Regions from separate parts of the Homo sapiens genome. Here regions 2, 3 and 4 are each linked to region 1. The links are contacts of gene promoters, found by promoter capture Hi-C in human tissues and cell types (Jung and others, 2019). All regions are on one chromosome and are shown on one strand. The core of a region is centred on a gene start or on the middle of the fragment in contact, and the rest is flanking DNA. Distances in the headings are between cores, read along the strand shown.

Region 1 (5,007 bases), core at 1,343-3,842:
GGGGTGGAGGGGCTGCTCCACATCTCACAGCGTTCTCTGGCTGCAGAATCTCCAGCCAAGTCCTCCGTGCTCGTGGTGGGAATCGTCATCGGTGTCTTGCTACTCACGGCAGCGGCTGTAGGAGGAGCTCTGTTGTGGAGAAGGATGAGGAGTGGGCTGCCAGGTGGGGGGCAGCGGGAGGAAGAGCCTCTGAGAGAGGGACAGAGACCCCAAGAGAGGGGCACACAGACCTGGGAGGACAGAGACCCAGAGAGGGGGGACAGAGATCAGAGAGAGGTGGAGACAGAAACCCAGAGATGGGAGAACAGAGGTGCAGAGAGAGGGGGACGGAGACAGAGACCCAGAGACGGGGGAACAGAGACCCAGAGGGGACAGAGAGAGGTGCGGACAGAGGGAGGGGGAGACAGACCCAGAGGAGGGAGGCAAAGATGTAGAAAGAGGGGGGACGGAAAATTGGGAGAAGGGGAGACAAAGGCCCAGAAGGAAGGGGATAGAGACTGAGGAAGAGTGTGTGAGACACACACACAAATGGGGGACGCCAGTCAGACCCAGAGCGCCTCAGAGATTCTGATGACCTCTCCCTCTCTCTCTCTCCTCAGCCCCTTGGATCTCCCTTCGTGGAGACGACACCGGGGTCCTCCTGCCCACCCCAGGGGAGGCCCAGGATGCTGATTTGAAGGATGTAAATGTGATTCCAGCCACCGCCTGACCATCCGCCATTCCGACTGCTAAAAGCGAATGTAGTCAGGCCCCTTTCATGCTGTGAGACCTCCTGGAACACTGGCATCTCTGAGCCTCCAGAAGGGGTTCTGGGCCTAGTTGTCCTCCCTCTGGAGCCCCGTCCTGTGGTCTGCCTCAGTTTCCCCTCCTAATACATATGGCTGTTTTCCACCTCGATAATATAACACGAGTTTGGGCCCGAATCAGTGTGTTCTCATCATTTTTCAGGCAGGGGAGGTAAGGGAATAAGTCGGGGGACTGAATGGCGGCTGGGCCTCGGATCTCTCCTACAGGTAACATGCTGCCACAGGGGAACCTGCCAGTTTTATACATCAGGTCATGTATTTTCTTTTTCTTTTTCTTTTTTCTTTTTTTTTAGACGGAGTCTTGCTCTGTTGCTCAGTCCGGAGTCCTGTGGCGCGATCTCGGCTCACTGTAAGCTCCGCCTCCCTGGGTTCACGCCATTCTCCTGCCTCAGGCTCCCGAGTAGCTGGGACTACAGGCGCCTGCCACCATGCCTGGCTAATTTTTTGTATTTTTAGTACAGACGGGGTTTCACCATGTTAGCCAGGATGGTCTCGATCTCCTGACCTCATGATCCACCCGCCTCTGCCTCCCAAAGGGGTGGGATTACAAGTGTGAGCCACCGCGCCCGGCCTAAGGTCACTTTTTTTTTTTTTTTTTAAGACAGAGTTTTGCTCTTGTTGCTCAGACTGGAGTACAATTGCGTGATCTCAGCTCACTGCAACCTCCGCCTCCCAGGTTCAAGCAATTCTCCTGCCTCCCAAGTAGCTGGGATTACAGGCATGCACCACCACACCCGGCTAATTTTTTGTATTTAGTAGAGACGGGGTTTCACCATGTTGGTCAGGCTGGTCTGGAACTCCTGACCTCAGGTGATCCACCTGCCTCAGCTTCCCAAAGTTCTGGGATTACAGGCATTGAGCTACTGTGCTCAACCTGAGGTCATGTATTTTTAATTCATAACTTTTACAAATATTTACTGGATGACTGCCATGCCAGGCATTTTGAGGAATTCTTGGCTACTGTCTGACCACCTGAATCCTTGGAGCCGAAGAGGAGCGAGGAGCAGTGTTCACTCTTGGAGGAAATGGGATATTTCCTCCGGCCCCTTGATTCTGCTCTCCCTTTTCTTTTCTTTTCTTTTCTTTCTTTTTTTTTTTGAGACGGAGTTTCGCTCTTGTTGCCCAGGCTGGAATGCAATGGTGCGATCTCGGCTCACCACAACCTCCGCCTCCCAGGTTCAAGCAATTCTCCTGCCTCAGCCTCCCAAAGTAGCTGGGATTAAAGACATGCGCCACCACACCCGGCTAATTTTGTATGTTTAGTAGAGATGGGGTTTCTCCGTGTTGATCAGGCTGGTCTCGAACTCCCGACCTCAGGCGATCCGCCCGCCTCGGCCTCCCAAAGTTCTGGGATTACAGGCGTGAGCCACCGCGCCCGGCCTTTTTTCTTTTCTTTCGTTCTTTTTGTTTATTTTTGTTTTGTTTTGTTTTGTTTGGTATAGAAGTGTTGGAACGTACACCTCTTTCTTAAACCATCCTGACAAAGGGAAAGGGAAAAATACATTTCCCGTGAGGCGTTGTGACTAGAACAGCTGGAGGTGGACGGCAGAGTGCCGCGACGACTGCCAGGAGTTGTAGTTCTCCCCGGCCGCGTCACTGCGGTGTCGCCCACCCTTCTTCCCCGGGCAGGCCGCGGTTTCCTTTGTGGACGTGGCGAGGAGTGCCCGCGGCACCCCGTGCACTCATTGGCCCCGCCCCGTGAGACGCTCGTGCGAGCTCATTGGGCGGGGGGCGGGGCTCTGCGCTGCCAGAGGCGGGGCCTGACTGGAGAGCGGCCGAATTGGGCACATTTGCGGGAACGCAGAGCGGAGCGTGGAGAGCGGAGCGAAGCTGGATAACAGGGTAAAGGGAGTGGGTGGGGGGCCTCTGTCCAGGGAGGGCGGCTCGGGTCGAGGACCAGGGTCCGGACTGGGAGCAATGACGGGGAGCCTGCCTGACCTCTCGCTGGCCACAACTATGCCCTGCACCTTGCGTGGGATGTGCGCCACGTCTGTCTCTGTAATTCCCCCTGGCAGGTCTGGGACCCCCCTGAGACTCCGTCAGAAGATTCGGTCCTCCCCATAGGTGGCTTTACCTCTAAGCATCCCGCCCTCTTTTCCCCCATCGCCCGCCCTTTTTGAGCCCGAAAGCTTGCAGCCAACTTCCAACTCCCTGTCCTGTCCTAGGTAACCCCTCCACCCCGCCATTCTCCTATCCCGTGTCTGTCCCCATCCCTGTGACCCCTGACCCCTGGCCTTTGCCACTCCCCAGGGACCGATGATGTGGCGACCATCAGTTCTGCTGCTTCTGTTGCTACTGAGGCACGGGGCCCAGGGGAAGCCATCCCCAGACGCAGGCCCTCATGGCCAGGGGAGGGTGCACCAGGCGGCCCCCCTGAGCGACGCTCCCCATGATGACGCCCACGGGAACTTCCAGTACGACCATGAGGCTTTCCTGGGACGGGAAGTGGCCAAGGAATTCGACCAACTCACCCCAGAGGAAAGCCAGGCCCGTCTGGGGTAAGAGAGACATTCGGTTGGGGCGTGTCCAGAGGTGGGGCTTAGGAGAGAGACGCGGGGGTATCGACAGGGGTCAGAGAAATGGCGTGGACTGAACTTCATTTCTTTGTGAGAAATGAAATTCTACCTTCTATCCTTGGGAAAAAGAAATTAAGTTAAAATTGAGGCCTAAAGAGGACCTTTGAGACCGGGCGTGGTGGCTCATGCCTGTAATCCCAGCACTTTGGGAGGCCAAGGCAGGCCGATCACTTGAGGTCAGGAGTTCGAGAACAGCCTGGCCAACATGGTGAAATCCCGTCTCTACTAAAAATACAAAATTAGGCAGGCGTGGTGGTGGGCACCTGTAATCCCAGCTACTCGGGAGGCTGAGGCAGGAGAATCGCTTGAACCTGGGAGGTGGAGGTTGCAGTGAGCCAAAATTGCACCACTGCCCTCCAGTCAGGGCGACAAAGTGAGACTCCGTCTAAAAAACAACAACAACAATAAAAAAGAGGACCTTTGAGGGCAGCAAAATCTGGGTTAGATTCTGCCCCCTAAGCGCTCCTTATTCTTTTGTCCCAGACATCTCCCCTCCCCAAGCCTCAGTTTCCTGCTCTGTAAATGGCAGGGACTGGTGTGGAAAATGAGGTTTGGCCTTTAAGGAGCCCGGCCAGTGCAGGAGAGTGGCAGAGCCCTGAGTTTCAGGGTGAGCTGGGTGGAATGGAGCCCTGTCCACCCTCTCCGTCCAGGCCTGAGCGCAGGGGGGCGCGATGGGAGCAGCCGCCTTCTTCTGTGCATCCTCCTGACACTGATTGAGCCTGCAAAGGTTTATCGAGCACCTGCTATGTGCCAGGCACTGCTCTAGGTGCTGAAGTCACAACAGCTAACACATCTGTCCTCCTGAAGTTTACACTGTGGTGAGGGAAACAGCAAGAAGTCAATAAGTAGAAAGTGGATCAAATAGAGATAAATGCATCCAAGAAAGATAAAGCAAGAGAGTCAGAAAGTGTGGAGGGGAGAGGTTGTTGGTGGGGGGGAGTTGCAATTTTTATTTATTTATTTATTTATTTATTTACTTATTGAGATGGAGTCTCGCTCTGTCACCCAGGCTGGAGTGCAGTGGTGCGATCTCGGCTCACTGCAACCTCCACCTCCTGGGCTCAAGCAATTGTCCTGTCTCAGCCTCCCAAGTAGCTGGGATTACAGGCGCTAGCCACCACGCCCAGCTAATTTTGTATTTTTATTTTTTATTTTTATTTTTGTTGTTGTTGTTTTTGAGATGGAGTCTCGCTCTGTCACCCAGGCTGGAGTGCAGTGACGTGATCTCGGCTCAGTGGAACCTCCGCCTCCCGGGTTCAACCAGTTGTTCTGCCTCGTACTCCCTAGTAGCTAGAGTCCTAGCTACAAGTGAACGCTACAAGTCCTAGCTACAAGTGAACGCCTCCACATCCAGCAAAGTTTTTTTTCTTTCCTTTTTTTTTTTTGGAGACAGAGTGAGACTCTGTCTCCCGGGCTAGAGTGCAGTGGCGTGATCTCAGCTCATGCAACCTCTGCCTCCCAGGTTCAAGCAATTCTCCTGCCTCAGCCTTCCGAGTAGCTGGGACTATGGGTGCACGCCCACACGCCCAGCTAATTTTTTTTTTTTTTTTTGTATTTTAGTAGAGATGGGGTTTCACTGTGTTGCCCAGGCTGGTCTCGAGCTCCTGAGCTCAGGCAATCCGCCC
Region 2 (5,007 bases), core at 1,999-4,498, 390 kb after region 1:
AGAAAGAAAGGAGACCTACCATTACTCACCGTTTCCTCAAAGCAAACTTTGGGGCAGATCCACTTGACAAATGAGGAAAGTGAAGCCCAGAGTGGCTGGTTAAGCCACGGTCCCTGCCCTCAAGGCAGCCAGAGTCAAATGTCAGCTCTACAACCAGGGCTCAGGGCAGGCACAGGGCCGGGCCACATGCTGTGGGAGCAGGTTCCAGGGAGAAGCTGAGCGTTGCAGATGCAGCATCAGCCAGGGAAAGGATGGCGGGGGAGAGGCGCCGTCCACGCGGGAGGAAAGGCCTGTGTGAAGACAGGGAGGCCCACACAGCAGACATGCCTCTGGGTGCTAAGTGATCTGGTGCTTCTGAAGGGAGATGTTTATGTGTGAAGGAGTGACTTGGCAAGCCTGGGCTGTTCAAATCTGCACATTCCAAAGAGAGAAAATGGCCCTTGACCAGCTCCAGGAGAATCTCTATGTTCTTGAAATGTGCTGCCAGATAAGAGCGCCTTTGTTTACCTGGGGCCCCAGGCCACTCTAGAGAGTCCATGTTGACGCTGTGACCTAGAGTGGGGGCTTTGGGTCATACAGTATCAGCACGACCTCTGGAGGGGCTGGAGTCAGCAGACCTCAGTTCAGCCACACGGGTGCGCCATGTCCTCCCCACAACCCGGGCCGCCACTGCTCCGTAAGCGTTACCACACGCTGTTGCAGGGAGAACTGAGCACTGTCCGCGGGACTCTCTCTACCTGCAGAGGAGAGCTGGAAGCTCGTGCCTGGTCTCCCTTGGGGCTTTTGCATCTCTCCCCTTTGCTGTTTTCAGTCTGTATCATTTCTCCATAATAAACCGTGACCGTGACTGTGAGTAGAAAGCTTTGCTGAGCTCTGTGAGTCTTAGCTCATCACTGAGCCGCAGGGTGGTCTTGGGGACTGTGGGCCACGTGACAGGCGGGAGAATCTGGCAGACCCATACATACCATGCTAACGGTTCGGGCGTTATATTGAGGGAGCCACAGGCGGACTTTATGGGTGTGGGGGATGAACCGTAGGGGTAGAGGCTGGAGGCCAGGTGGCTTAGAGAAGACTGGGAGAAGGTCCAGGCCAAGAGCCTGAGGCCCGAACTGGAACTCAGAGAGGACAGCATCACAATTTGAGCAAAGTGTTAAATTTGCACCAAAACCACAGGGTCTGTCCAGGTTAACAGTGACAGGCCAGGCATGATGGCTCACACCTGTAATCCCAGTACTTTCGGAGGCCAAGGCAGGAGGATTGCTTAAGCCCAGGAGTTTGAGGCAAAAAACAAAAAACAAAAAGCCACAAATACTAGAACTTGGGAAGTTTCTCACAAATGCAAACTATTACGAGCTCTGATCCCGGAATTACCACATTTGCCAAAGGGGAGAGTTTCCTTACCAAAGAAGCTGATGGTGCTGGTGGCGGTGGAGGAAGCAGGGAGGAACCCAAACTGAGGGAGTGTTGCATTTCCAGGGAAAGGAGGAGGGTATGCCTGGGCCTGTGCTCAGGGCTGGGTGGCTGTGACCATCTGTAGTTCACCCAGGCAGGACACAGCTCCAGAGAAGCGCTGCCTTGAGGTCACCAAGGAAAGTGCTGGCAGAGCCGCCAGTCCCTTCCCTTCCTGCCTGCCTGCCCCAACATTTACCCTTGAGTTTCAAACAACACGGCCGCCTTCACAGCCCTGGGAACCCGGAGGAAGACCCGCTTGGGATTCAGATGCGGAATCATCTGAATTCAGGTGGGCATATCCCACCCCCATCTGTGAGAACCAGGGTTCTTTGCTGTCACCCCAGCCTTCGGTCAGCTCTACTACCTTACCTCCATCTGTGATTCTTGTGCCACTCCAAGTCCCAGTTTTTTTTTTTTTTTTTTTTTTTTTTTTTTTGAGATGGAGTCTTGCTCTGCCACCCAGGCTGGAGTGTGGTGGTGCGATCTTGGCTCACTACAACCTCCGCCTCCCGGGTTCAAGCAATTCTCCCACCTCAGCCTCCCGAGTAGCTGGGATTACAGGCGTGCACCACCATGCCCAGCTAATTTTTGTATTTTTAGTAGAGACGGGGTTTCACCATGTTAGCCGGGCTGGTCTTGAACTCCTGACCTCAGGTGATCTGCCCACCTTGGCCTCCTAAAGTGCTGTGATTACAGGAGTGAGCCACTGTGCCCGGCCCCCAACCCCTTTCCTTAGATGCCTGGGACAGGAGTCTGTGCCTGGGAAAGAATACAGGAGACCTCAGCTTTGGACCAAAAGGAAAGGAAGAATTAGGAAGGATGTGTGCTATGTGTGTGGGGGGGTAGACAGAAAAACGGCCCCCAAACATGCCCACACTCTGATCCAGGACCCTGTCAATGTGACCTTACATGGCAAAGGGACTTTGCAGATGTGATGAAGATAAAGAGGTTACCCTGGCTTATCCACGTGAGCCCCAGGTGACCACAGGGGTTCTTCAGGGAGGCAGGAGTCAGAGGGAGATGTGCCTATGGAAGAATGGACTGAGAGACACTGTGCTGCTGGCTTTGAAGATGAGGGGGCCACAAGCCAAGGAACACAGGCGGCTTCGGCCTCTAGAGCTAAAGAAGGACATAGCCTCTCCCCTAGAGTTTCCCAGAGGAACTACACACCATGCACCCATTTAGACTCTGGACCCCCAGCACTGTGAAAATACATTCGTGTTGCTTTAAACCACTACATTTGTGATGACTTGTTACAGCAGCCACTAGAAACCAATGGCGGTAGGTTGAGGGACGATGGAGAAAGAACAGAATGAAATCTAGATAGGTGGATGGGAATACACAGAGCAGAGCTGGGGTTGAGAAAGGGGCTGGGGTCAGGGGCAGGTCTGCCCTTGTGCATGGAGACCAAGGCGGCTGGTACAGAAAGGAAAGTGAGGTGTGATTCTGAAAATCCAGACATCCCCTGGTGCTGGGGCAACCCTGCCAGGACTGTGGATGTGTGTGGGTGGATTGCCACTGACACCCAGCCACGATAGGCCATCTATGATGGGAGGGAAGGACAAGGTTGCCTCCGAACACAGAGGAAGGCTAACGGTGGGGATGGTGTCGGCTCCACTGGGCCAGATTTCCGTTTGTTCCCTGCTGTATTCGCAGCACCTGCAGCAGTGCCTGGTACACAGTAGGGACTCAGTAACAACCATTTACTAGGGACCTACTGTGTAACCGGCACCGTGCCAGAGCACTGCACTGCAGCACACCGAGCCCTTCCTGGGTGGGAAACAAGTGCAGACTCCCCAAGGCCACCCAGCAAACAGCAGACCCATGATGGGAAACCAGAGCTTTCCAGGGCCAAGTCTTGACATTCTGCCTGGGACGGGAGAGTTTCATTGAGGAAAAGATGTTAGAATTAAGTGTTGGCCAAGTGTGGTGGCTCACATCTGTAATCTCAGCACTTTGGGAGGCTGAGGTGGGTGGATCACCTGAGGTCAGGAGTTCGAGACTAGCCTGGCCAACATGGTGTATCTTTTGTATTTTTTTTTTTTTTTTTGAGACGGAGTCTCGCTCTGTCGCCCAGGCTGGAGTGCAGTGGCGGGATCTTGGCTCACTGCAAGCTCCGCCTCCCGGTATCTTTTGTATTTTTGTATCTCTACTAAAAATACAAAAATTAGGCCAGGCGCGGTGGCTCACGCCTGTAATCCCAGCACTTTGGAAGGCCGAGGCGGGCGGATCACTAGGTCAGGAGATCCAGACCATGGTGAAACCCCGTCTGCACTAAAAATACAAAAAAAAATTAGCCAGGCGTGGTGGTGGGTGCCCGTAGTCCCAGCTACTCGGGAGGCTGAGGCAGGAGAATGGCATCAACCCGGGAGGCGGAGCTTGCAGTAAGCCGAGATCACACCACTGCACTCCAGCCTGGGAGACAGAGCGAGACTCCGTCTCAAAAACAAAAAAACAAAAATTAGCCTGGCATGGTGGCGTGTGCCTGTGATCCCAGATAGAGGTGGGAGGATGACTTGAGCCCAGGAGTTTGAGGCTGCAGTGAGCTGTGATCATGCCACCATACTTCAGCCTGGGCGGCTGAGCGAGACCCCGTCTCAAACAAATAAAAAAGTTCTGGGAGGCACTTGAACAAAGGCCCATGGCATTCGGCTGACAGCCACCTGGTGGCACTGCTGACAACGCAGAGCCCAGATGCAAGACGGACAGGGTGCGGAGCTGTCTCCGTGGGACCTCCCCTTTCCCCATGGAATTCGTTATTTCAGATTTGGGGGAAGTATGACCGGTGGAACCAGAGAGACCAGAACAGGGCAGAAAAGAGCAGAGAGTGAGGGAGTGGAGAGGAGAGAAACAAGGGGAGATCAGAGATGGGCTGGGCTCAGCCCAGGGAAATTTGATTCCTGCTGAGGCTCAGACGCCGTCCTCCAACACTGCCTTCCCTCACTTGCCCTCCCGTGGGAACCTCTGGCCAGGACCATCTCCATGAGTGCTAGTGCTGGGATTCTCCGTCTGCAAACTCCACAAGTCTAACTACTCTGCTTCTTAACCGTCTCCTGAATCAGTTCCTCTTTCCTTTGCGTCAAAGAAAATCCCCCTAAACCTTGAATAACAGATCAGCTCCAAGTCTGCCCTTCAAGAACTGAAGTCAACTGACCAACACCTTCCTAAGTGGACCTTAGCCAAGGCAGATGCTCAAGCGGTCCAGGCCAAATGGCCAGACCAGAGTGCCTTGGGAGCATGAGACCATGAGTGGGTCAGGGTCTGGGTTATGTTGGGAAAGACTCACCGAGACTCTGTGTGGGAGGAGTGAGGAGACTGTTGCAGTCGCCTGGCGGGAGCTGGCGGTGGCCTGGGCTTTCCTGTCCTGCTCTCTTACATAACTACCCTGCCTGGGGTATGGCCAACCCCATTGGTAGAAAACAGAGTGGGCCAGGGATGGTGGCTCGCGCCTGTAATCCCAGTACTCTGGCAGGCCGAGGTGGGTGGATTACCTGAGGTCAGGAGTTCGAGACCAAGCTGACCAACATGGTGAAACCCCCGTCTCTACTAAAAATA
Region 3 (5,007 bases), core at 1-2,500, 370 kb before region 1:
CTGGTGCCAACGTTCAGTGGACACATCCTCATCTTCTTCCTCGTCTCTGTGGCCTTGGTGCCTGTGGTCAGGGACATGATGGTGGTGTTCACCTGAGACAGCCTCAACCTCTTCCTTTCTGTGGTCTTGGTGCCTGTGGGCCTGGTGTCCATACTCAGTGGAGACATCATCATCATCATTGTCATCTTCTTCATGGCTTCGGTGCCTGTGGCTGGGGTCGCGATGATGGTGTCCATCTGAGACATCTTCATCCTCTTCAATCCCGTGGCCTTGGTGCCTGTGAGCCTGGTGTCTATATTCAATGGAGACATCATCATCATCATCATCATCATCATCATCATCATCATCATCGTCATCTTCTTCATGGCCTTGGTGCCTGTGGCTGGGGCCATGATGATGGTGTCCATCTGAGACATCCTCATCCTCTTCACTCCCATGGCCTCGGTGCCTGTGGGCCTGGTGTCCATACTCAGTGGAGGCCTCCTCTTCCTCCTCCTCCTCCTCCTCCTCCTCTTCTCCTTCATCATCTTCCCCATCATGGCCTCGGTGTCCATGCCTGAGGATATGATGGTGATGCTCACTGGACACAACTTCATCCTCATCCTCGTCTTGATGGCTGTGGCTCCTGTGGCTGGGGAGGTGGTGCCTGTGCTCAGCTGAGTCTTCCGTGTCTTCACTCCCGTGGCCTCTGTGCCCACGGGCCTGCCCACCATGCTCTGCAAAGACCTCCTCACCTGAGACACCCTCATCTCCGACTTTGTGGTCTTGGGACCTGTGGCCTGGGAGTAGGTGCCCATATTCCTTGGAGACATCTTCATCCTCCTTTTCACGGTCTGGGTGGCTCCAGAAATGATGCCCATTCTCTGTGGAAACATCCTTGTTCTCATCTGGATGGTCTCTAGGGCTGTGGAGGTGGTGGCGAAGCTCTGCTGATGCCTCCTCGGAGAGCCCGGCGACTCCAGTGCTGTTGTTCCGGTTTCTGAAGCCTAGCCCATCCCCTCTGAGCTGCTGGGTCATGGCCGGGGGGAGGAGCAGGCTGGCCACCCCAGCCCAGAGGACAGAAGCGTGCAGCCATGGCCTATGGTGGCCCATGGGGACGGACAGGCAGCACTGGCTCCAGCTGCCTCTGCGGCAATGTGGACAAACGTTGGGGTCTTTGTCCCTTTGGGGTTGGTCTCTTTTTTTCTCTGTGTCTCTCCTTTGTCCTTTCGGTCTCTGTCCACCTTCCTCTGGTCCTTGCTGCCTGGCTCTGGACACCCCTCTGAGGCTGTCTCCGGAGCCCCCTGACCCCCCTCTGGGGCCCTCCCTCCCCATTCCCCAGCCAATAGGGTCCTTCCCCTCCCCTCTCTCCAGCTAAATTTACTCTCAGCCCTGAGTTATTCTGGGTCAGTCCCCGCCTGCCTGCCTCCTGCTCCTCCTCCTCCCAGCTGGGGAGGGGACCAGTGAGGGGTCTCTCCCTGGCCAGGAGACGGTGGCCAAGGGACTTGACTTTGAACTACCAACAAGCTCACGTTTGGCAGCTGCAAAGACAAAGGCTAGACTTTTAGCAGGTTTTTGGGGGAGCCTGGGGCACCTGGGGGAGGCAGAAGAGACTTATCAGAGGGGAGAGACTCCTGGGACGGAAGGACTGGGGGTTCGATTGCGGGGTGTTTCCAGCTGGAATGATACGTGCTGGTGAGAGAGTGATGTCAGTATTGAGGCCCTAGAATGGGGGGAAAGGAACATGGCCCCCAACACACGTGCCCATGACCTCCTGTCCCTGGAACTCAGATCTGGGGGCAGGGACTGGGCTAGGCCAGGGCTATAAATACAGCTGGGAGGGGTAGGGGGACTCAGGTTACGGAGGCCACAGCTGTCCCCATCACAGAGGGCTGGCAGGAGACAAGTGGCCTTGCCCGTCTCTGTGTGTCAGTATTTCCTACTCCTCACCCTTCATGACTGCCCCCACTAGGGTCTCCTTTCCTGTTCACGGGTCCTCCTCTCTCTTCAATTCTGTCATCTGCTCTCTCAGGGTCCCTGTCCCTCCTCCATGGGATTGCCTCTCCCTCTCACTCTGGGCTTCTGTCCCACTCTTATCTTAGTGTCAGTCCTCCCCCAAGTCTGTGTCCCTCTCTCTCCCCTAAATCTCTGGCCCCTCCTTTCTGAGTTCCTGCCCTTCCCCCAATTCTTTGGTTTTTGCATCCCCCTCTGCCCCTTGCCTCAGTCAAGGTGTCTCCTCCCCATCTCTGGCATCCACCTCTCTGGGTCTCTGTCCCCACTCTCTCTCAGAGTCTCTGTCCCCCTCTGTCTCAGAGTCTCTGTCCACCTCTCCCTGGGTCTCTGTCCCCCTCTCTCTGGGTCTCTGTCCCCCTCTCCCTGGGTCTCTGTCCCCCTCTCTCTGTGGATCTCTGTCCCCCTCTCTCTGGGTCTCTGTTCCCCTCTCTCTGTGGGTCTCTGTCCCCCTCTCTCTGTGGATCTCTGTCCCCCTCTCTCTGGGTCTCTGTTCCCCTCTCTCTGTGGGTCTCTGTCCCCCTCTCTCTCTGGGTCTCTGTTCCCCTCTCTCTGGGTCTCTGTCCCCCTCTCTCAGGGTCTCTGTCCCCCTCTGTCTCAGAGTCTCTGTCCCCCTCTCTCTGGGTCTCTGTCCCCTCTCCCTGGGTCTCTGTACCCCTCTCCGTGGGTCTCTGTCCCCTCTCCCTGGGTCTCTGTCCCCCCATCCCTGGGTCTCTGTCCCCCCCTCTCTGGGTCTCTGTCCCCCTCTCTCTGGGTCTCTGTCCTCCTCTCTCTCTGGGTCTCTGTTCCCCTCTCTCTGGGTCTCTGTCCCCCTCTCTCTGGGTCTCTGTCCCCGTCTCTCTGGGTCTCTGTCCCCCTCTCTCTGGGTCTCTGTCCTCCTCTCTCTCTGGGTCTCTGTTCCCCTCTCTCTGGGTCTCTGTCCCCCTCTCTCTGGGTCTCTGTCCCCGTCTCTCTGGGTCTCTGTCCCCCTCTCTCTGGGTCTCTGTCCCCCTCTCTCTGGGTCTCTGTCCCCTCTCCCTGGGTCTCTGTCCCCCTCTCCGTGGGTCTCTGTCCCCTCTCCCTGGGTCTCTGTCCCCCCCTCCCTGGGTCTCTGTCCCCCCCTCTCTGGGTCTCTGTCCCCCCCTCTCTGGGTCTCTGTCCTCCTCTCCCTGGGTCTCTGTCCCCCTCTCTCTGTGGGTCTCTGTCCCACTCTCTCTGGGTCTCTGTCCCACTCTCTCTGGGTCTCTGTCCCCTCTCCCTGGGTCTCTGTCCCCCTCTCTCTGTGGGTCTCTGTCCCCCTCTCTCTCTGTCTATCCCTGGGTCCCTGCTGCCCCACCTTCTGATTCTCTGTCCCCTAAGTCTTTGTCTCCCCCTCTTTGGGTTAAATTGTCCCCTCCCTGTCTGGCATCCTCCTTTCTGAGTCTGTTCCCTCTCCGCCACTGGCCCCCAACTCCTTCTGTTCCCATCTCGCGCTTGCCCTTGGAGTCTCCCCTGTGTGTCTCTCTCCCCCCGGCCCGGACCTCTGCACCCCCCAGGTCGCTGTCCCTCTGTCCCCTTATCGCGGCCTGGGACCCGCCCTCTCCCCGCCTCCCGCTTTGGCGTCTCCAAGACTCCCCGCCCCCCAGACCTCGCCCCGCCCCAGGCTAGGCTGGAAAGTGGAGGATCCGGTTTGCTCTGGGCGGGTCTGGAAGCAGAGCCGGCGGAGGGAGCGCCGGGGCCCTGGGCTGCAGGAGGTTGCGGCGGCCGCGGCAGCATGGTGGTGCCGGAGAAGGAGCAGGTGAGCGCCGGACCAGGGTCTGCGGGAGCGCGGAGCTGGGGACCTCGCCTCCAGGCTCCCAGAGAGGAGGGCGCTGGACACCCAGATTCCTGGGTCAGACGGAGGAGGGGGATGGGAGGGTCCAGGTTCCAGGGTCCAGGGCATGGGGGTCGAGACTCCTGAGTCTGGAGCGGGAGGGCGCTGGGGGCCCGGACTCCTGTGTCCGTGGGGAGCGCACGGGGTGGGTGGCTCTGTGTCCCATAGGACAGAACTGGGTGCCCTCTCACCCCACTTCCACCCCTACATTTGTTCCTGTCCCCAGAGCTGGATCCCCAAGATCTTCAAGAAGAAGACCTGCACGACGTTCATAGTTGACTCCACAGATCCGGGGTGAGGAGTTCGCCCCTGGACTGACCCCAGAGGGTCCGCGGCCCGCTGACCCCGCCCGCGGATGGTCACGCCCCAGCCCTGCTCCTTCCCCATTCCTGGACTCGGGGACCTTCCCAAGGGCGTTCCTTGCCGACGCTCTCCCTCTAGGAGCGTTTGGGTCTGTGTAGACACCCCTCATTCCCCATTCGCCATTCTCCCGCTCAGGGTCAGTGTAGACGCTCCAGGGCTCGGTTCTGCTTCTTTCCTCCCCGATGTCTCTTCTATGTGCTTCTGTCTCTTCGTGTCACTTTCTGTGTCTCTGTCTTTCCCTTTTGGGTATTTCTGTTTCATTCATTCATTCATTCATTCATTCATTCATTCATCCATCCATGCAAGAAACCCTCACTCAGCGCTCCCAAGGTCCCTTTAGCCTAATTCAACGGCCCTGCCAGGGTTCCAATTTCCCCTGGGACACGTGCTGTGTGGCTTCGGGCAAATCATTTCACCTCTCTGGGTCCCGTTTCTCATCTGGGCATCAAAAGAGGCTTGATCTCCTGGGGTTATTATGAGAATTAAACAAGTTAATGCTTGTGATATTCCTGGCACAGCGCCCAGCACAGGACGCTGGGAAATATCTGCAGCTCCCACTGGGAGGTGGCAATTATTACCGCGGGCGGGCCCTGTCTTGGTGGCCGGGGACACCAATTGAGCTAGATAGGGTGTGTGCGTCCGCGAGGAGCTCCCGCCCTTCAGTGACGGCCTCTCAAGCGGATCCAGGCTTTCTAGTTTTTTTTTTTTTTTTTTTTTTTTTGAGACGGTGTCTCGCTCTGTCCCCCAGGCTGGAGTGCAGTGGCGCGATCTCGGCTCACTGCAAGCTCCGCCTCCCGGGTTCACGCCGTTTTCCTGCCTCAGCC
Region 4 (5,007 bases), core at 1,775-4,274, 300 kb before region 1:
ACTATGTTGCCCAGGCTGGTCTCAAACTCCTGAGCACAAGTGATCCTCCTGCCTCAGCCTCCTGAGTAGCTGGGATTACAGATGCACACCACTATACCCAGCTAAGTTTTTATTTTTTTTTTTTTAAATAGAGATGGGTTTCATTATGTTGCTCAAGCTGGTCTGGAACTCCTGGGTTCAAGCGATTCTCCTGCCTTGGCCTCCCAAAGTGCTGGGATTACAGGTGTGAGCCACTGCGCCCAGCCTTATGCGTTCTTTGGAAGAAACGGCTTTTGGGTAATGGCCTGCACTGTTGTATTGTATCAGCTGCCATCCAGTCGAAGCTAACTAAGGGCAGGTGGGTGTTGAATGAGGACAATGCCCACCTGCCCTTAGTTAGCTGTGACTGCAAGAACAAAGACCCTGTTATCCCAATCATCATCATGAGGACTAGCTGGGCCGCAGCTTAAAGGGACATTTCATAGCTTAAAAAAGACAAACTGTTGGTCCTGCCACCTCCAACTACAAAGGTGTTGCAACTGATAAGCCTTTTGGGATCTTGAGGACGCCACATCTCACGTGTGGAAATTTCACTAACGTGGCTGCAGCAAGTGACCAGACAGATGGCCGCATTTGAGTGGGAGCCTCTTTAGCAAGAGCTTTTTAAAATCAAGCTCCACCCAGGAGCTCTTTATCTTCTTCAGAACCCACGGGATTACAGACATCTGCACCAGCCCCCGTGGGACCTTGGAGTCCAGGAGAATGAATACCAAGGCATTGATGCTCATGCTCCCTGCTGGCTGGTGAGTAATAAAGTCCCTTGTCTCTGGCCCAGGAGTCTTGTGTCTTCTGGCAACATTTGTGAAACAGTAATGGGCTAGCTTGTTTTATTTTTATTTTTATTTTTTATTTTATTGATTGATTCATTGAATTAGGGACAGGGTCTCACTCTGTCACCCAGGCTGGAGTGCAATGGTGCACTCCAACCTGGGCTCAAGTGATCCTCCCACCTCAGCCTCCCGAGTAGCTGGGACTACAGGTGCATGCCACTATGCCCAACTAATTTTTTACATTTTGTAGAGACGGTCTGGCTACATTGCCCAGAGTGGTCTCGATCTCCTGGGCTCAAGGGATCCTCCTGCTTCAGCCTCCCAAGGTGCTGGGATTACAGGCATGAGCCACTGCACCCAGCCCAGGCTGGCTTGTAAGTAGGACAAAATGAAAGTCCGGACCTGGTAGTGTGGAAAAGGATGGGATGTTGACAGAGGCGTGGCTTTCTGGAATTGGAAGGACAGGGCCTCCATGGGCCTGGTTCAAAAATATGAGAAGAATCCCTGGGATCCAGTAGGGAATTCTCTCATCCAAGTAGAGGAGGATGGCCAGGAATAGAGGTCTTCACTGTCCTACTTGTATTTTTTTTTTTTTTTTTTTTAGATGGAGTTTCACTGTTGTTGCCCAGGCTGGAGTGCAGTGGTGCAACCTCGGCTCACTGCAACCTCCGCCTCCTGGGTTCAAGCAATTCTCCTGCCTCAGCCTCCCGAGTAGCTGGGATTACAGGCAGGCACCGCCACGCCCGGCTAATTTTGTATTTTTAGTAGAGACGGGGTTTCTCCATGTTGGTCAGGCTGGTCTCGAACTCCCGACCTCAGGTGATCCACCTGCTTCGGCCTCCCAAAGTGCTGGGATTGCAAGCATGAGCCACCGCACCCAGCCTGTCCTACTTGTTAATGAGGCTCAGTGGCTACAGATAGGATCAAAATCAGTGGGCAAAACAGTGGGCAAATGGTGCCTGGCTGCACCTGGGTTCTTACCCTTCTCCAGGCAGGTGGAGGAAGAAATGGGATCATGAAAATGAGACAACAAGCCCCAGGGACCCAACCAAGAGGCAGCATGGCTGTGGCCGCTGGGTCAAAGGGTCTCTGAAACCGAAGTGGTATCAGCAACAAGGACCTTGTTATTTGTTTCTTTGTTTTGAGACAGGGTCTTGCTCTGTCACCCAGGCTGAAGTACAGTGGCGCAAACATGGCTCACTGTAGCCTCAAACTCCCAGGGCCAAGGGGTCCTCCCCACTCAGCCTCCCGAGTAGCTGGGACCACACGTATGCACCACTACACCCAGCTAATTTAAAATTTTTTTGTAGAGATGAGGTCTCGCTATGTTTCCCAGGCTGGTCGTGAGCTCCTGAGCACAAGTGATGCAATCACCTCGGCCTCCGAAAGCCCTGAGATTACAGGCATGAGCCGCTATGCCCTGCCTTGCTATTTGATATTGAGCCTTCAGTGGGCTGAAAACATTAGTGAAGATCCCACCCTGCGAGTGTTTCTGGCCCCACCACGGTCCAATTTGGATCCAGTCCACAGCTGGGTGCAGGGCTGGTCAAAGATGCTGAGGACTGGGAGGGCTGAGCCTGGCCATCTGTGGAAGAGCAGAAAGAGAGGGGCCTCTGTGCCTAAGAACTTGCTGGGTCCTGGGAGGTACCTGGGTTGCAGCTCTGGCACTGATCCTGGAGGGAGGAGCCAAGTGAGCCGATAGAGAGGTCAATAATGAAGTTTTTTTGTTGTTTGTTTTTTGAGATGGAGTCTTGCTCTGTCGCCCAAGCTGGAGTGCAGTGGCATGATCTTGGCTCACGGCAAGCTCTGCTTCCTGGGTTCATGCCATTCTCCTGCCTCAGCCTCCCCAGTAACTGGGACTACAGGTGCCCGCCACCATGCCTGGCTAATTTTTTGTATTTTTTATAGAGACGAGGTTTCACCGTGTTAGCCAGGATGGTCTCGATCTCCTGATCTCATGATCCACCCGCCTCTGCCTCCCAAAGTGCTGGGATTACAAGTGTGAGCCACCATGCCCGGCCCTTTTTTTTTTTTTTTTTTTTTTTTTGAGATGGAGTTTCACTCTTGTTGCCCAGACTGGAGTGCAATGACGCGATCTCTGCTCACTGCAAGCTCCGCCTCCCAGGTTCAAGCAATTCTCCTGCCTCAGCCTCCTGAGTAGCTGGGACTACAGGTGTGCACCACCACACCTGGCTAATTTTGTATTTTTGGTAGAGACGGAGTTTCTCCATGTTGGTCAGTCAGGTCTTGAACTCCTGACCTCAAGTGATCCGCCCGCCTCGGCCTCCCAAAGTGCTGGAACTACAGGTGTGAGCCACCGCGCCCGACCAACAATGAGTTTTTTTCCCCTGCCTTTGCTGTCCCCCTGGGATGCCCCCCAGCCCCAAGTTGCTCCAGGGCTGAGGCTGTAGTCCCTGACCCACAGACTTCTTGGTCCAAGTACCTGAATTCAACCAGTCAGGCTCCCAGTGGGAAGGGAAGCTGAAGAGATCTCGTTGGGTGTGGCACCTAGAGCCAATTCAATGTCCCGCTGTGTGGTTTCCACGACTGAGCGGGTGTAATTGGTACTGATGCTTTACATGCTCGAAAAAACTACACATGCCTTGTTATCAGAGGATTCTACCAGTCGGAGGCTGTGGCATATGCCGCCCTCTTCACCTCTACCAGAAACAATGTGGGATCCCAGTAGAAAAGGAAACACAACTGTAATGACTAAATGGCTGCTGGAGTGCTCCGGGAAGCCGTTTCCCAGTGCCACAGTGCCACCTGCCTGACACGGCCACCAAGTACACTCCTTTTAAAAAGAAAGGGCAGCTGGGCTGGGTGCGGTGGCTCACACCAAGAGGTGGGTGGATTGCTTGAGTCCAGGAGTTCAAGACCAGCCTGGGCGACATAGTGAAAACCCATCTCTGTTTTTTTTAAATTAAAATTTTATTTATTTATTTTGAGACAGAGTCTTGCTCTGTGACCAGGCTGGAGTGCAGTGGTACGATCTCGGTTCACTGCAACCTCCACCTCTGGGGTTCAAGCGATTCTCCTGCCTCAGCCTCCCCAGTAGCTGGGATTACAGGCACCTGCCACCATGCCCAGATAACTTTTGTATTGTTAGTAGAGACTGGGTTTCACCATGTTGGTCAGGATGGTCTTGATCTCTTGACCTTGGGATCTACCCACCTCTGCCTCACAAAGTGCTGGGATTACAGGCGTGAGCCACCGTGCCCGGCCCTGTCTCTCTTCTAATAAATAATAAAAAAAGAAAAGAAGGCCGCTATGAATCACTATTAAGCTCTCCTTGAAAGCAAACGCCTGGCTTGTGGTGGCCTTTGACTCCCCAGCCTCACACCCTTGTTCTCGGGTAGGTTAACTGCAGCTTCACTAGCAATACCGGAAATGGCCAAAGGTAAAGGGTACGTCTAAGAGCACAGCTGGTCTGGTCCTCAGGTCTTCTGAGTTTTACATACAAAAGTCACAGCTACCCCTGTTTCTTCTGTTTTCTGTTTCGAGACGGTCTTGCTGTGTTGCCCAGGCTGGAGTGCAGTGGCATGATCGTGGCTCACTGCAGCCTGGAACTCCTGGGCTCAAGCGATCCTCCCACCTCAACCTCCTGAGTAGCTGGGACTATAGGCATGCGCCAGCATACCCGGTTAATTTTTTAATTTTTTTTTTTTCCAGAGACAGAGTCTCGCTGTGTTGCCCATGCTGGTCTTGAACTCCTGGGCTCAAGCAATCCTCCTGCCACGGCCTCCCAAAGTGCTGGAATTACAAGTGTGAGCCGCCGCACCCCGCAGCAGCTACCCCATTTGGAGAAAACTCTCCTCCACTCCCCTGCCTGAGGCAATTCCTCTGGCTCAATGGGGCCCTCAATTCAAACGGGTTCCCTTAAACGGCTGGGCGCATTCCACTATGTTAAACCTAAAGATGTCCACTAGGGGGCAGCAACCACCTAACCCCAACACCAACTCCGGAAGACATTGATTGCAGTTTGGTTGATATTTAAGGTATTCAATGGGACTTTGTAACTTCCTCACTATCTGCGGGTGTCTGGTATTATTGATTGTTGGATCATCTTCCTCAAGAATCAGCTCAAAAAGGTTTCTGGTTTCCCCTTCCTACCTCTTCCTGATCCACACACTTTATTTATTTATTTTTTGAGACAGATGCTCTGTTGCTCAGGCTGGAGTGCAGTGGTGCCATCTCG

The links. Contacts are between HindIII fragments. The study calls those that stand out against the background at their distance.
Region 2: a contact is called between a fragment that was not itself captured here and the fragment with the promoter of RCN3 in region 1, in 1 of the 25 tissues and cell types used here (dorsolateral prefrontal cortex).
Region 3: the fragment with the promoter of HRC here is called in contact with the fragment with the promoter of RCN3 in region 1 in 1 of the 25 tissues and cell types used here (dorsolateral prefrontal cortex).
Region 4: a fragment that was not itself captured here is called in contact with the fragment with the promoter of RCN3 in region 1 in 1 of the 25 tissues and cell types used here (dorsolateral prefrontal cortex).

The regions. Positions count from the first base shown.
Region 1 is chr19:49,525,411-49,530,417 of GRCh38, forward strand. It overlaps RCN3 (reticulocalbin 3), which reads left to right and starts at 2,593. Exons shown (of 7, transcript NM_020650.3): 1 at 2,593-2,648; 2 at 3,057-3,304. The coding sequence starts at 3,063. It overlaps FCGRT (Fc gamma receptor and transporter), which reads left to right. Exons shown (of 7, transcript NM_001136019.3): 6 at 47-163; 7 at 600-1,018. The coding sequence ends at 709. RefSeq lists an enhancer at 2,509-3,087 and a silencer at 2,551-2,670. The HindIII fragment of the contact is 21,368 bases long and covers 1-5,007 here.
Region 2 is chr19:49,912,870-49,917,876 of GRCh38, forward strand. The region is part of intron 2 of NUP62 (nucleoporin 62); the gene reads right to left. It also overlaps a transcript of IL4I1 not described here. Among named protein-coding and RNA genes, the nearest start is that of ATF5, 14 kb to the right of the region's middle. RefSeq lists an enhancer at 1-402. The HindIII fragment of the contact is 9,177 bases long and covers 1-5,007 here.
Region 3 is chr19:49,154,146-49,159,152 of GRCh38, forward strand. HRC (histidine rich calcium binding protein) reads right to left here and starts at 1,251. Exons shown (of 6, transcript NM_002152.3): 1 at 1-1,251. The coding sequence starts at 1,092. It overlaps TRPM4 (transient receptor potential cation channel subfamily M member 4), which reads left to right and starts at 3,647. Exons shown (of 25, transcript NM_017636.4): 1 at 3,647-3,745; 2 at 4,047-4,114. The coding sequence starts at 3,722. RefSeq lists an enhancer at 3,381-4,002 and a silencer at 4,686-4,872. The HindIII fragment of the contact is 31,868 bases long and covers 1-5,007 here.
Region 4 is chr19:49,221,474-49,226,480 of GRCh38, forward strand. It overlaps LOC107985340 (a long non-coding RNA gene), which reads left to right and starts at 371. Exons shown (of 3, transcript XR_001753971.2): 1 at 371-782. RefSeq lists an enhancer at 4,606-4,655. The HindIII fragment of the contact is 6,440 bases long and covers 1-5,007 here.